4 separate regions of the Homo sapiens genome follow, and regions 1, 2 and 4 are each linked to region 3. The links are contacts of gene promoters, found by promoter capture Hi-C in human tissues and cell types (Jung and others, 2019). All regions are on one chromosome and are shown on one strand. The core of a region is centred on a gene start or on the middle of the fragment in contact, and the rest is flanking DNA. Distances in the headings are between cores, read along the strand shown.

Region 1 (3,183 bases), core at 371-2,870, 360 kb after region 3:
AGCCACTCTACCCACGCGGCTTCTTTACCTGCAACGGCAGCCTGGCGGCAGCGCCCCTTAGAACCTTGGCTGGCCACATGATCAGGGCCAGGAAGAAGGCTCTGGGTGCCCTGTCTCCTTCTGCCCCAGGTGCAGTTGGTGTCTTGTCTCCTACAGCCAGGGACCCCTAAGGTCTGAGGGCACAGGGTGGAGGCCCCTTGCTTTGCCTGTTAGGAGGAAACTTCCTACATGAGGGACCCCCTTAGGAAAAGAAGGGTGGGTCCTGGTGCCCATCTGCCCCGTGGCCCAAGCATCCTGTCCTGGTCTCTGCAGGTCCCTCTGCCGGGAACAGGCTCCTTTCTCTCCCTAAAGTCCTAAGAGCCCTGTTGGAGTGGGCGCCTCTCACCTGCTCCACAGCCCCCAACCCCAACTGGGCCTTGCCAAGGGGCTTAGCCATCTGGTCCCAGAATGAGTGAGTGAATGAATGAGTGAGTGAATGAATGAGTGAGTGAATGAATGAGTGGATGAGGGTGCATCAAACTCAACTGCAAGTCTCCAGGACACTTTTTTTGAGACAAGATCTTGTTGTCACCCGGGCTGGAGTGCAGTGGTGCCATCTTGGCTCACTGCGGCCTCTAACTCCCAGGCTCAAGTGATCCTCCCACCTCAGCCTCCCAAGTAGCTGAGACTACAGGTGAGCGCCACCATGCCTGGCTCATTTTTCTAATTTTTGTAGAGAAAGTGTCTTGCTATGTTGCCCAGGCTGGTCTGGAACCCCTGAGCACAAGCCACCCGCCTGCCCTGGCCTCCCAAAGTGCTGGGATTACAGGCATGAGCCACTGGGACCAGCTTCCACTGAACTTTAACTCTCCCGACTCCCACGGGGGCAGGCTGGGGGGACCCTGCCCCGCCCCAACCCTGCAAGGTGGCACTTTGGGCGGGGATGGGGGATCCTGGGAGAAACATAGGGGAAGGGATGGCCCCTCAGCGCCCAGGCCAACCTGCTGCCCTAAGCACCTGGTACAGTCCACGGCAGGTGGAGACTCAGCCAGGTTCTTCCTTCATGGCTGTCGCAGCACGGTACAGGAGCAGGCCTGTGTGCAAAGCCAGCCACCCCCACTCCACCAGCACAGGTGCCACCCAAAGGGCATGGGGTGGGGGGGCGGCTGCCAGCCGCCTCGAAACCTGCAAGTGAGGCGAGGGCCCCTGAGCACCAAGACCCGCCCTGGGTGTGCTCCCGGGTTCCCCCACCTGTCTCCCTGAACCTTTCCACCTAGGAGTACCCCCTCCCCCACCCCGGCGTTCCCTCCGTACCCACTCACGACTTACCATTCACGACTTCCGTTTCCCCCCCCCCCGCCAGCCTCCGTGCCCCCCTCAGCCCCAGGCCGCCGTGCTTCCCGCTCCGGACCATCCCCCCACTCCGTGCCATCCCCGCTCCGTGCACGGCCCCCCGTCCCCCCTCCTCCATGCCTCCCCTCCGTGTCCCCCCTCCAAGCCCCCTTCTGTGTCCCCCACTCCGTGCTCCCCTCTGTCTCCCCCTCCGTGTCCCCCTCTCCGTGCTCCCCCCATGCCACCCCGGCCGCGGAGGGCCCCCCCCTCCCCCGCGCCGCTCCGCGCGCGCTCCCGCCCGCGTTTTCGGACTGCACCAGCGGAGCCCCGCGGCGCCAGGGCCGGGCGGAGCGCCTCGTCTGTCGCCGCCGCCCCCACCGGTGCGGGCTCTGCGGCTGCGGCGGGGGGCGCGGGGCGCGGGGGCCGGCGCGCTCCGCACCTGCGGCGGCCGCTGGGTGATGCGGCGGCTCGGGCCGGGGCCGCGGGCGTCCTGAGCGCAGCGCCCTCCCGGGATGCCCGCCGGCCGCTGGCCCGGCCATGTCGTCGTCCTTCTTCAACCCCAGCTTCGCCTTCAGCTCGCACTTCGACCCCGGTGAGTCCCTGGCGGCCCGGCCTGCGCGCCGCTGCCTCCCTCCGCTGCGGACGTGATGCCCCTGGGCCCCACGGCTCCCGGTTTGCATGGAAATTAACCCTTTCCCCGCCCCGAGCCCAGCAGCAGAAGCAGCCGGACCCCCTGGCGGCCCCAGATCTCGGAGGGGCAGGCCCTGGGCCCCAGCACAAACCGGCCTCCGCCTGTGGGCTGGCGTCCCCCGCGTGGTCGTGACTCCGTGGCTGCCTCCAGGGCACAGGTAACTGGGGCACGGAGGGCCTGCGTGGGCCCCTGGTGTCCAGGAGAGTTGGTCTCAGACTAAGGGCCCTTGGGGGTGTGGGGGGTGTCAGCCAGCTGGGGTTCAGGCTTTCCATGGCCTCTCCTGGGTCCGGGGCCCTGGCGTGGGAGGCTTCTTCCCAGGCTGGGAGCGATTCTCAGAGCCCTGCCCAGCCACCAGCAGCCGGCGGGGGATGTGGGGGGAGCAGGGGCCAGTCCACATTACAGAGCCCAGTGGGCAGAGGCTCAGAAGAGAGGGGCCTTGGTGGGTGCCCAGATCCCCTGACAGTGGGGGCCCGAGGTGACGCTGTCAAGCTGGCTGCAGGGGACCTGAGGCCAGGCCTCTTACCCCGTATGGCCAGTGCACCGGGCAGGGCGAGATTACCCATGGCTGCCTGGCCTCCTGGCTGTGGTGGACAGCTGGGATAGGCAGAGGGGGCTGGGGACAGCTGGAAGCCCCATCTGTCACCAGGAAGCAGTGGGCTTTCTAAAACCTCTGCTTCTCCAGATCCGGCCCCTGCTTGGCCTGAGTGGGAGATAATCCCCCTGCCCTGTGCCATCCATGGCCCCAGGGCCAAGTCCCACCCACACGTCACTGGGGCTCTGGCACCAGGCTGAGCCAGCCCAAACAAAGCCTGTTTGCATGTGACGTGATCTCCTGTGTCTCCTTCCCTGGAGCAGGGCCCAGTGCACGCAGCCTGGCAGGGAGGCACGGGGGTCCCCGGGGCAGATCTCGGTCTGAAGGCATTTGCTCCCTGGAGGAAGGGAGCTGGTGGGAGGTCTGTCTGCTGGGCTTAGGGCTGTGGGTGTCACTTGCTCAGAAATGACTTCCTGTAGTGACCCCTGGGGCTCGGAAGTCCCTGTGGGGTGGGCAGGTGAAGGCTCAGAGCCCAACAGCCACGGCAACAGCTGTAATGTCTCCCCGGCCCAAGGGCAGGGGGTGGAGGAGGCTTGGGGCAGGTCCTCATCACATCTCCATGCCAGGCGTGGCCCACGGTGCTTGGTCC
Region 2 (3,633 bases), core at 262-2,761, 260 kb after region 3:
CCAACTATTCTAGAACAGCGCATGCTGTCCTGTTGATTCTTTTGACTTCTGATTTTGGTGATGCATTACCAAGGGAAGCGTTGAAGGCTCTGAACATATTTATGTTACCCAAATGCACCCACTCCCTAGCAGACAAGACAGAGCTCGTTGTCATCAGAGGATGACATCACAGGGGAACTCGCACGCACTCTCCCCAGGGAACAGCCCTAGAGGCGATCTGTCTGGGCTCCTGGCAGGGGCTGCAGCCTGGCAGCACCCGCCAGGCCCTGGCCTCTACACCTGCCCTAGGATAGGTCCTGCCTTCCTAGGGCCACTCATGGAGCAGCAGGCAGGAGAGGCGGCGCAGGAGCCGTGCCGTGCGCAGCCAGCATCTGGTTTCGGCAGGAGGTCCCTAGTGTCTGACTCTTTAAAGATGAACCATCAGAGAATTCACCCCGGGGCCTAAATGCACTGTTGGAGGAATCAGCCGCGGTTGTCAGGCTTTCTGGGCACAGAGGGCGTCTCTGCTCCCGGCTCACGCCTAGACGGCATTTCCTTCAATGCTGGCTTGCTCACCCGTGTGCAGGGCAAAAGCTCAGGTCCCCTCCTTCCCAGAGCCCTTCCCCACTCATCCCTTCCTGTCACTTCTCCATCCTAGTGGAGACCATCCTGGGCCTCACAGGAGCGACCATGGGAAGCCTCATCTGCTTCATCTGCCCGGCGCTGATCTACAAGAAAATCCACAAGAACGCACTTTCCTCCCAGGTGCGTGCTGCTCGTGGGGTGGCCTGGACGAGGGCTGATGGGTCTGGGCTGGGGAGAGGTGGAGGCGGGAGGAAGCCCCTGGTTCAGCGTTTTCAGATGGGTTCTATCAAGAAACTTAAAACCCACAAAAGGGACTTGGTCCAGTCAGCCTGGGGAACCCTGGGTTCACCAGGACGCACGGTCTTTGCCCAGCAGGGCCACACTAAGCTGCTCAAGCTGTGCATCGGGTTTTCCTGAGAGCCGACTTAGCTGAGTCGTAAGCGCTTTCCCCATGGTGTTTCTGCGATGCCTGATTGCCCATGGACCTGCTGCCACCTCTGAGTCCCCTCCCCAGCCGCCCACCCCTGAGGCCACCACCCACCGTTGTTCCTGGTGCGACCCTCCCACGGAGATGTGCGTGCTTGTGGGTTTTTCTTTAACTGTAACACAGCTTCCTGCTGCTTTTGCTCAAAACCCTGTGCAGGTCAGGTTGCTCCACAGCCGTGGGCACAGAGCTGCCTCGCTATTTTTAGCCGTTTCATGGGTTCCGTGGTAGGAAGATTCCATAATCCCAGTCTCCGAAGGACTCACCTCTCCAGTCTTGCTATTGCAGACAGAATCGCGATGAATATCTGTGTTCATGAGCATGTCGACGTATTTGAGCACGCGTCTGTAGGAAGCCTTCTAGAAATGGAATCCTGTGTCAGGGGTGTGAGCATCTGTAAATGTGGTGGCTCTACCCAAAGTGCCTGCAGCGTCACTCCCAGCCAGGCTCAAGGCCTCTGTCCCTGCACCCAGGACCTTCCAGGCTTCATCATTCTTGGCCTCTCTGGCGGGAACTTGAGTGTCTTTTCATGGGTTTAGAAGCCACTTGCGTTTCTTTTTCTGTGAACTGCTTGTGTTCTTTGCTCACTTTTTATGGAGTTGTTGAGCTTTTTCTTACTGGAATATATTGATAATTTTTTTTTTCTTTTGAGACAGAGTTTCACTCTTGTTGCCCAAGCTGGGGTGCAGTGGCGCAGTCTCGGCTTACTGCAACCTCCGCCTCCCAGGTTCAAGTGATTCTCCTGCCTCAGCCTCCTGAGTAGCCACCACGCCGGGCTAATTTTGTATTTTTAGTGAGACGGGGTTTCTCCGTGTTGGTCACGCTGGTCTTGAACTCTTGACCTCAGGTGATCCACCCGCCTCCACCTCCCAAAGTGCTGTGATTACAGGTGTGAGCCAATGCGCCCGGCCTCAACCTGATAAGTTTTTACAAAGTGAACCACGTGGAACCACCATCCAGAGCAGACATAGGACATCCCGGCACCCCAGAGCTCCCTATGGATGCCTCACTGACATCCACCCCCACCCCAAAGGTCCTCCGGCATTCTGGAATGATCTTGCCTTGTCTTCAAGTTGCGGTAAATAGATTCTTACAGTGTACATTAGAATACACGTCCACGTGTGTCAGCCACTTCTTCAGCATCTTGGCTCAGGTCCACTGCAACTTCTGCCTCCTGGGTTCAAGCAATTCTCCTGCCTCAGCCTCCTGAGTAGCTGGGATTCCAGGTGTGTGCCACCACACCCAGCTAATTTTTGTACTTTTAGTAGAGACAGGGTTTTACCATGTTGGTCAGGCTGGTCTCAAATCCTGACCTCAAATAATCCACCCGCCTCAGCCTCCCAAAGTGCTGGGATTATAGACGTGAGCCACTACACCCAGCCCCTTATGGATTTTTTAATCATCTTGTTTATGAGTTGTGAGAAAGGTATGATAATTCCTACTGTAACTGCAGATTTGTTTATTTTTCCTTTTAGTTCCATCACTTTTTGCTTTTTAGTTTGAAGCCATGTTATTAGGAGCAGACAGATTGAAGTTGGTTATATCTCCTTGTTGAATTGTCTTTTATCGTGTTAAATACTCCTTTTTATCATTGGAAATACTTTTCTCCTTAAAGTTGGCTTTGTAGCTAACTTAGTTCTGCTTTGGGTTTGTATTTGCACAGGATAGCTTGTTTCATCCCTTTTCTTTTGATTTCTCTAGTCCATTATATTCATGGTATGTCTCTTATAACAGCATGCAGTTGACTTTTGTCTTGTTCTTATTCAGTCTGTGAATGGGAGTATTTAAGACTATTTACAGTTAATATAATAACTGATTTTTGAGGGAAAACTTTCAACTTATGTCCTATTATTTGTCTCATATGTCCTTTTTCTGTTTTTGCTTTTACTTTCTTTGGATCAATCAAACATTTTAAATATTTACTCTTTTTTTGGCTTGTTGGTACATTTCTATTCTTCTAATGATTATACTAGGCAGTTGATATCAACCCTTATTTAAAACTCCACAAGACATTGTTATTGTTGTTTCAAATAGTAATTATTGAGCCAGGCATGGTGGCTCACTCCTGTAATCCCAGCACTTTGGGAGGCTGAGGCAGGAGAATCACTTGAACCCGGGAGGTGGAGGTTGCAGTGAGCCGAGATAGCACCACTGCACTCCAGCCTGGGCAACAGAGCAAAAGACTCCGTCTCAAAAAAAAAAGAAAAAAAAGAAGAAGAAAAAGAAAAAAGTATTGATATTGATTCTTTGTGGCTTCTTGTTTTTTTGTCCTGGGGTCTTGTTTTCTAGTGTGCCTGGTATTTTGCAGATGTTGTGTTTGAGAAATCGTAGAAGTTCTGGGTGACATTGTCATTCATCCATCATACAGGGGATAGGCAGAAGGCCTGTGTCCCATTGAGGCAAATGTGTTTTCAGTTGGCCTTGTTCCTAGGGTACAGCCCTTCTGGGGTCTCAGCTGGGCAGTGACACCCTCAAATGGTGAATCTTCTGCTTGGCGTTCATCTTCTGCTTGGCGTTCATCATCTTGCTGGCTCCTCTCTGCATAGCTGATAGCTGGCAAGTGCTTTGGGGGAGATTTTTGCACA
Region 3 (3,509 bases), core at 528-3,027:
TACCCTGGGCTCCTCCCCAATTTCCTTTAAAGTCCAGAAAATGCAGCCGGGCACGGTGGCTCACGCCTGTAATCCCAGCACTTTGGGAGGCCGAGGTGGACAGATCACAAGGTCAGGAGATCAAGACCATCCTGGCTAACACAGTGAAACCCCGTCTCTTCTAAAAAATACAAAAAATTAGCCGGGCGTGGTGGCGGGCGCCTGTAGTCCCAGCTACTCGGGAGGCTGAGGCAGGAGAATGGCGTGAACCCGTGAGGCGGCGCTTGCAGTGAGCCGAGATCACGCCACTGCGCTCCAGCCTGGGTGACAGAGCGAGACTCTGTCTCAAAAAATAAATAAATAAATGAAGTCCAGAAAATGGGGTGGAGAAAAAGAAGGGGAGATATGGACCCCCCACAGCCTCCTGCCCACATGCCCCTCATGGCACCAGGCCAGGCTGTGGGCCTCCTGCCCCTGCTGGGCACTGCCCATCGCCTGGCCCACACCTCTCCAGTCTCAGACTCCGCAGCTGCCCAGGGCTTGGCTGAGACATTCTCCAGCTATGCTGAGAAAGGCCAGGAACCCTTGCCTCTGACCCTGAAGCCACCACCCCTCAGTGGGGGTCGCCTGGGCATGGCCCGAGGCCCACCCACCTACACCCTGAGTGGCCACACATGTCCCACATGGACCCCCAGCCCAGAACAGACATGTGAACGCACAGACACGATACCACTCCCCGTGAGACCCCCACGGCCTCCTCCCTGAAGCAGGGGGGTCCCAGCACCCCTCAGGAGGTCGCCACCTGTGCCCTCCCTACCTTGCCGCACAGAGACGTAGCGGTGGTTGGCAGCCACCAGCACCACCTGTGGGTGACTCTCCTCCAGATCAAAGAGCTCATCCTTGCCAGGTCGCGTGTTTCGGCCGGCCTTGAGGGTGCCTGCGGGCCCCACGGGTGCCAGGTAGTGGCCGTCGCAGTCCTTGAAGGCCAGCTTGCCCGCCTTGAACTCCAGCGTGTAGCAGGCACGGGGCTCAGGCTCCCAGACCAGACGGCCGTCGCTGCGCAGGTAGCGGCTGTCACAGGACTTGAGGCAGTACCGTCGGCTCCGGAAGATGAGGGTGAGGAGGGCGTCCACGCCCCAGGGCTTGTCTCCGTCTGCGGCCATCTCGTCCTCCCGCGGGCACAGGTGCACGTAGCGCCGCCGGCTCACGCTCAGCAGGTGGGCCTGCGGGTGGATGGCCAGGTGCACGGTCCACAGCTCGGCCGGGGAAACGGCTGTGGCGAAGCAGGACAGCTGGTCCTCGGTGCCTCCGAAGAAGCGGCCGTGCGGCTCGGACCGCAGCACCCAGCGCCCATCTGGCTGCGGCAGGACCAGGAAGCGGCAGTCACGGCCCGGCTGCTCTGCCTCACAGGCCACGCGCCCGTCCTCTTCTGCCGACAGGTAGCGGCCCAGGTGGCTGCTGCGGAGCAGCACAGCCGTGCCTTGTCCTGGGTCGGGTTCCAGCACCCAGGTCTGCTTCCTCTTGAGGCTGGGTGCCGAGGCATTGACCTTGAAGCCGAAGCTCTCAGCTGTCAGGTAGCGGTCAGTGTCGTTGACGAGGCCAAACTGGATCTTCAGCACCTGGTGCAGGCCGTTCGTCGGCATCTTCAGGCTGGCCGGGTCCCCGGAGGGGCCTGGGATGCGCCCTCTGAGTGCTCACGGCCCCCGCGGTCCCCCAGAAGCCCGGGTCGGCTCGGCTGGCCCACAGCCCCCAGACCCAGCCGGCGTCACGAACCCCCTGCCTGCTCTGACCCGCCTCTGACCCGCGGCAGCAGCCTGGGCAGCTCTTAGAGGGCCCGCGGGCAGCAGAGGGCGGGCGGGGAGGGCGGATCAGAGACGTGCGGCTTAGGAGCAGCACCTTTCATTACCCTCAGCTTGGATTTCAGCCACTCCCGGATTGCACAGAGCCCAGAGCCCGAGGGCCTGAGGGCCTACGGGGCTGGAGGGCAGGGTTGATCCCCTTTTCCTCATAGCGTGGGCCCAGCGCCCCTCTTCACGGCCCTGCACCTTTTGGCCTCTCTCGTTCCTGCCCCCCTCCTCCAACCCCGTGTGGGCTCCCGGCCCGGCCCGGCCCAGCCCTTCCGGATGTAGAAGCCGTCCAGTGGAACGCTCACGGCTCGGCCGCAACCTGATCGCCGCCCGTACCCTCGGTGGCCGCCAGGCCCTCAGCTGGATCCAGTTACTGCTTCTCTGATTCCTGCTGCCAGAAGCATAGCAAGGACCCCAGCCACAACCTGCAGCCCAGGTCGCCTCCACCCCAGACCGGCCTCTGGCCACACTGCTCAGGCCCCAGAATGACGCACTGGACTGCCACCCACGCTGGAGGGTGGAACACAGTGGCCGTGCAGCCCTGCAGGCAGGGGGCAGAGTCAGAGGCCCTGGGCCAGGCTGGCCCGGCCCCAGCGCACTCCTGTGCGCTCTGAGCAAGTTGCTGGGCCCTGAGGCTGCCCCCTCCTCTGCTGTGAGCTGGAGTGAAGCCAGCCTCACTTCACTTTGGAGTCTTTACGGATGTGGATCCAGGAGGCTGGTGGGACGATGTCCACCCCATGCTCCCAGCGGTGGCCCTTGGAATCTGGGAGAGGATGAAGGCCAGCAGGCCGGGAGAGACTGGAAGTGGTCACACCTGTCTACAGCACCTCCTTGCTCTGGGCCACCTGGCTGTACCCCTTCCCCAGAGCCTGAGGGGCACTGGGCCCTGCTCACCGTGCCTGGCTCCTGCACCTGCCTCAGGGGCTTGGGGCCAAGTAGTGAAACCAGAGCTGGCCACCCTGGGCCAGGGCCAGCCCGGTGTCCTCTTCCTCATAACAGCGTGTGACCCTCCCGTCTCCCTGGGGACTGGGAACAGGGGCCACAGGCCCCTTCCGGTCATGGCCTGGAGTCACTCCCCTGTCCTCCTGGGCCCATCTCCTGAGTGGCCATCATGGGGGTCCCCGTAGGGCAGGAGTCTAGCCAAAAGCAAGGGGCCTGGGCTGGGCACCTGTGGGCTCCAGAGGTGGGCAGGGCCATGGTGGCAGAGTGTGCACAGACTCAGGGGCTCTTCCTCTGTCCTCTAAGCCCTGGACAGCAACCGTGCCAGGCACCTGCAGACACAGGGGAGGAAAAAGAGGAGACCTGTCCCCACTGTCCCCACGCTCAGGGGCCAGGGTGGGGGCAGAGAGACTCCCACATGCAAATACCCCCCAGGGCACAGCGTACGCCACGACGCCAGGGCCTGCTCTCGCCTCTCCCTGTGTGCTGGCCTCATCCGCCTCTATGATTCACACGCATTTATGAGGCACCAACTGTGTGCGAAACCAGGTCACGTGCCAGGCACCATCCTGGGGAGACGCAGTCTGGGGTTTCACCCCCTTCCCAGAGACGATGCCCACACACACTCTCCCACAGTTTCCAGGGGACTGAGGACACAGGCCTAGCACCGATGCCAGGGAACTGTCTCTGGTTTAGGGATACAAGCTAGGGTGCTGCCTGCACCTCACTTTCCCATTGGCTCTT
Region 4 (3,573 bases), core at 635-3,134, 440 kb after region 3:
CATTGACAGAGGAAGGAGGCGGATGGGGAGGAGCAGAGGCGGAGGTCCGTCCAGGAGAGCCCCCACGCAGGCACCGTGAGAAGGTTGATGTCGGCTCATCCTGGCTCTACAGCCCTTCCCGTCAGTGCTCAGAAGAGGGAGAAAGCCAGGATATTCCCCCTCACAAATGGGGAAACTGAGGCTCAGAGAAGCTCTGGGGCTTGCTGCGGCCACATGACCCATAAGGGACAGAGCCAGATCCAAGCCTAAGCCTGACACCAGGGCCTTGAGGCTGTGCCCAGGTGGGGACAGTCCAGCCTGGGGCCACCCACAGGTCCCCTGGTGAGTGGGGAGGAGCAGCTGCAAGTTCTAGAGAAAGGAGGCTGCTCAGCCAGGGCTGGGGAGCCACAGCAGGGCCCCTGGGACCTGGGAAGAAAGACCAGCACCACACATCTCCCAGGAGGGGCCCTGGGAGGCCGAGAAGATGAGGCTCGCCAAGCGTCTCTGTACCGGGTGGCAGAGGCCTTTCCAAGGGGGCTGCTGGGCCACCCTCACCTCACACCCACTGCAACCTCCACCTACCATGCGCTTCGGGGCCCTGCCTGCCCTCTCCGCCCACATGGTCCCCGCCCAGACCCACTCACAGGTGCTAGGGGGACCATTTGCCTCGGCAACTAGCAGCCACAGATGGGAATGCTGCCCTCATTCCTGACCCTGCCGGGCTCCGGGGTCTGGCCCATCAGGACGCAGACAGCCTGTAAGGCCACGACCCCCTCCCTCTCCCCCTCCGCCTGCCCTCCTGCGGACGAGGGGGGCTTTGTGACGACTGTGGCAGCCGTTGGGAAACAGGTGCTGTGGCTTACTCCCAAAACTGGGTCACCTGGCTTACCACGAAAGGGCACTCAAGGGGCCCCAGGACGGGCCCAGCCACCAGCCACCTTAGTTCTGTTGCCAAATGGTTCAGTCAGCCCCTGGGGCACCCAGCAGCGGCCCCTTGCCCAGACCGTGGACCACAGCACTGAGGCAGGGCCAAGGCCCCTCGAGTCACCGCCAGGTCCAGCCCCCTGTGGCTGCGAATCAGGTGACCCTTGGGCCAGTCAACGAAGGGTCCACCGAGGCACTGGAGGTGGCTCACAGCCCCCATGAGAAGAACAGATGGGACCTGCCTCCAGGGCCCCTGAGGCACCAACATGGTCCCCCAACAGACCTCAAAAGTGCCAGGACATGCAGCAAACAGACAGACCAGCCATCAGCAAGGAGAAGGTCTTCCAAAACCCCTGTGTGGGATGGGCTTGAGGAGCTAGCTGTGCACACACAGCCTCGGGAGTAAATCCCACCACCCGGGGCCCACGGCAGAGCAGCGCGGAGGGCAGGCAGAGGCCAGGTGTGCGGTCAGGGCCCTCCTGAAGAGGCCTGGCAGTGGGAGGCAGGGCACCTGAAAACCAGGGAGCTGGTGCGGCAGGGCCACAGTGACTGCGTGGGGGCCTCAGGCCTCTGGCTCCAGCCTGCAGGAGGGAGGGGGAGTGGCTCCGACAGCCCCCAGCCTCTGCCTTTGTCCGGCCCTATGCTACCCCGCCGCGATCTCCAGCTCCCAGCGAGCTCAGCCACAGGGCAGTACCGGCCGTGCCAGGGAGACGGCCCTGGCCCTGAGCAGGATGGAGCCTCCGGTACCCACACGATGGAACACGATTTAGCCATGAAAAGGAAGAAAGGCTGACCCCCGACAGTAAGAGGGGAGGAGGCTGGCGCAGGCTACGGCACGATGAGCTTTAAGAACCCTCCGTGCCACGTGAGCCACCAGGCACCAAAGGCCGGACACTGTGGGATTCCAGCTACGCAGAATGTCCATAACAGGCAAGTCTACGGAGGCCAATGGCAGGCTGGTGACTGGTGGGGCCAGGGGCCCAGGAGTGACTGCTGATTGAAAAATGCTCTAAAACGGACTGAGTGATGGACACACAGCTGCAAACACTCATAACCACTGGACTGTGCCCGTGAAATGGTGAACTGCTGGTGATGTGAATTATATCTCAAAAACGCTGTTAGCAAAAACCCACAGAGCCTCGAGGGCAGAAGGGAGCTCAAGCTCCTGGACCCCCAGCAGGCAGCTGAGCCCTCAGTGAACTGGCCTCAGTATCCCCATCCCCAGAACACCAAGCTGGGGACATTCCCAGGAAAGTCCCCCTTAAGACAAGCTCTCACACCTGGCCTCGGTGCTCAGGGCTGGCTCACACCTGCACTGTCCTGACCTGCTCGGAGGCGGCTATGGCCCTCCAGGCCGCAGGGGTGCCGTCCGCTGCTTGTCTTCAGAAAGCAAAGTAGCAAAACGTTCCACGGTGGGAGGAAGAAGAAAAACAGACACAGTGTCTACCAACATATACCTATTTCTCCTCCTCAACTCCCCATGCCCACTGCTCAGGTTCTGTTCACAGAAACAGCTTGAGGACGGCTCGCTGCAGCAGCCTCAGGCAGGAATACTAAGGCCACCATGATGGGCCCATCATAGAAAGACCCATGATGGCAGCTTACCCGGAGTGCAAAACGGAAAGGATCAAAAGACCCATCACAGCTTACCTGGAGTGAAAAACAGGATCAAAACAAAGGCTGGGGACACGGGAAGAGGTGGCTGGAGAGGGCAGGGCACCCTAGAGAACGGCCTGAGTTGCGTCCCTGCAACTGTGCACCAAGCATGCCTGAGTGGGAGGCTGCAAACAGCAGCGGGCACCCGAGGGACCCCCAGCTCCCCCGTATGGCTGTTTCCACAGACTCTCACTTATCCTTCTCATCTGCCCCTGGCCTAGTCCCGTCCTCTCCTTTGGGGCCGATCCAGCTCCACCAGGCGACCCCACACTGGAAATCTTCTGGCTTGGTCTGCAGGGTGTGGGCAGACCTGCTTGGCTTCCCTGCAGTTAAGCAGGGAGCGGGGGCACAGGCTCTGAGCAGGAACCGGCCTCCCAGTCCCAGGGCGAGGCCACAGCCACTCATGAGCACCCACATCCGGCACCAAGGAGACGGTCGCACACACACACGCAGACACACGCACACGGGCAGGTGTGTGCGGGGCTTGCCAAGGCTTGAAAACCTGACTGCCAGCAGGAAGGGTGCGGCCTGGAGGCCCGGGCTTCACCCACAGCCACACCTTGCCCACCCCAGGGTGCAGCCCAGAAGCTTCTACCTGGGTGACTGGCCAGGGGTTTTCCTGATGTTTCCTTTACACACGACTGGGCATCTTGTTTTGTGTTTCTTTCTCTTCTGTATCACTATGACCCCAGCAAGTGGGCGAGGGGTTTCTGGGTCTGGCCTGTGTCAGCCACCATCCAGGTTCTGGTGTACACACATCAGGCCGTGCCTGTCATCGGCCAGGCCTTCCTACGTCCCAGCCCACTCAGCACGCAGCACCGGTGACGCCGGCGGGACGGTGAGAGAAACAACACCGAAGCCGCTCCCTCGAGGAACCTGAAGTACCACCTTCCCTCGAGTGGCCAGCCCTGCAGGCGGAGGCCACGACCGCTTAGAGGAACAAACTGGGACCGGACTCCCGGGCAGGGATGGGGAGAACAGAGGGGAGGACTCCATTTAGGTTTCTGCTCCTTC

What was found. The method cuts DNA at HindIII sites, captures the fragments that hold promoters and counts their contacts. A contact is called where the count stands out against the background at its distance.
Region 1: the fragment with the promoter of AATK here is called in contact with the fragment with the promoter of FSCN2 in region 3 in 4 of the 25 tissues and cell types used here (bladder, dorsolateral prefrontal cortex, lymphoblastoid cells and 1 more).
Region 2: a fragment that was not itself captured here is called in contact with the fragment with the promoter of FSCN2 in region 3 in 3 of the 25 tissues and cell types used here (dorsolateral prefrontal cortex, mesenchymal stem cells and mesendoderm cells).
Region 4: a fragment that was not itself captured here is called in contact with the fragment with the promoter of FSCN2 in region 3 in 1 of the 25 tissues and cell types used here (mesendoderm cells).

The regions. Positions count from the first base shown.
Region 1 is chr17:81,164,658-81,167,840 of GRCh38, reverse strand. It overlaps AATK (apoptosis associated tyrosine kinase), which reads left to right and starts at 1,620. Exons shown (of 14, transcript NM_001080395.3): 1 at 1,620-1,903. The coding sequence starts at 1,849. PVALEF (parvalbumin like EF-hand containing) reads right to left here and starts at 2,334. Exons shown (of 7, transcript NM_001354639.2): 1 at 2,094-2,334; 2 at 997-1,164. RefSeq lists enhancers at 2,079-2,822, 2,823-3,183. The HindIII fragment of the contact is 13,495 bases long and covers 1-3,183 here.
Region 2 is chr17:81,268,029-81,271,661 of GRCh38, reverse strand. SLC38A10 (solute carrier family 38 member 10) reads left to right here. Exons shown (of 16, transcript NM_001037984.3): 10 at 638-744. Among named protein-coding and RNA genes, the nearest start is that of SLC38A10, 25 kb to the left of the region's middle. The HindIII fragment of the contact is 5,517 bases long and covers 1-3,633 here.
Region 3 is chr17:81,526,645-81,530,153 of GRCh38, reverse strand. It overlaps FSCN2 (fascin actin-bundling protein 2, retinal), which reads right to left and starts at 1,777. Exons shown (of 5, transcript NM_012418.4): 1 at 797-1,777. The coding sequence starts at 1,622. RefSeq lists enhancers at 803-1,328, 1,329-1,855. The HindIII fragment of the contact is 15,570 bases long and covers 1-3,509 here.
Region 4 is chr17:81,086,828-81,090,400 of GRCh38, reverse strand. The region is part of intron 6 of BAIAP2 (BAR/IMD domain containing adaptor protein 2); the gene reads right to left. Among named protein-coding and RNA genes, the nearest start is that of MIR657, 37 kb to the left of the region's middle. RefSeq lists an enhancer at 169-670. The HindIII fragment of the contact is 9,149 bases long and covers 1-3,573 here.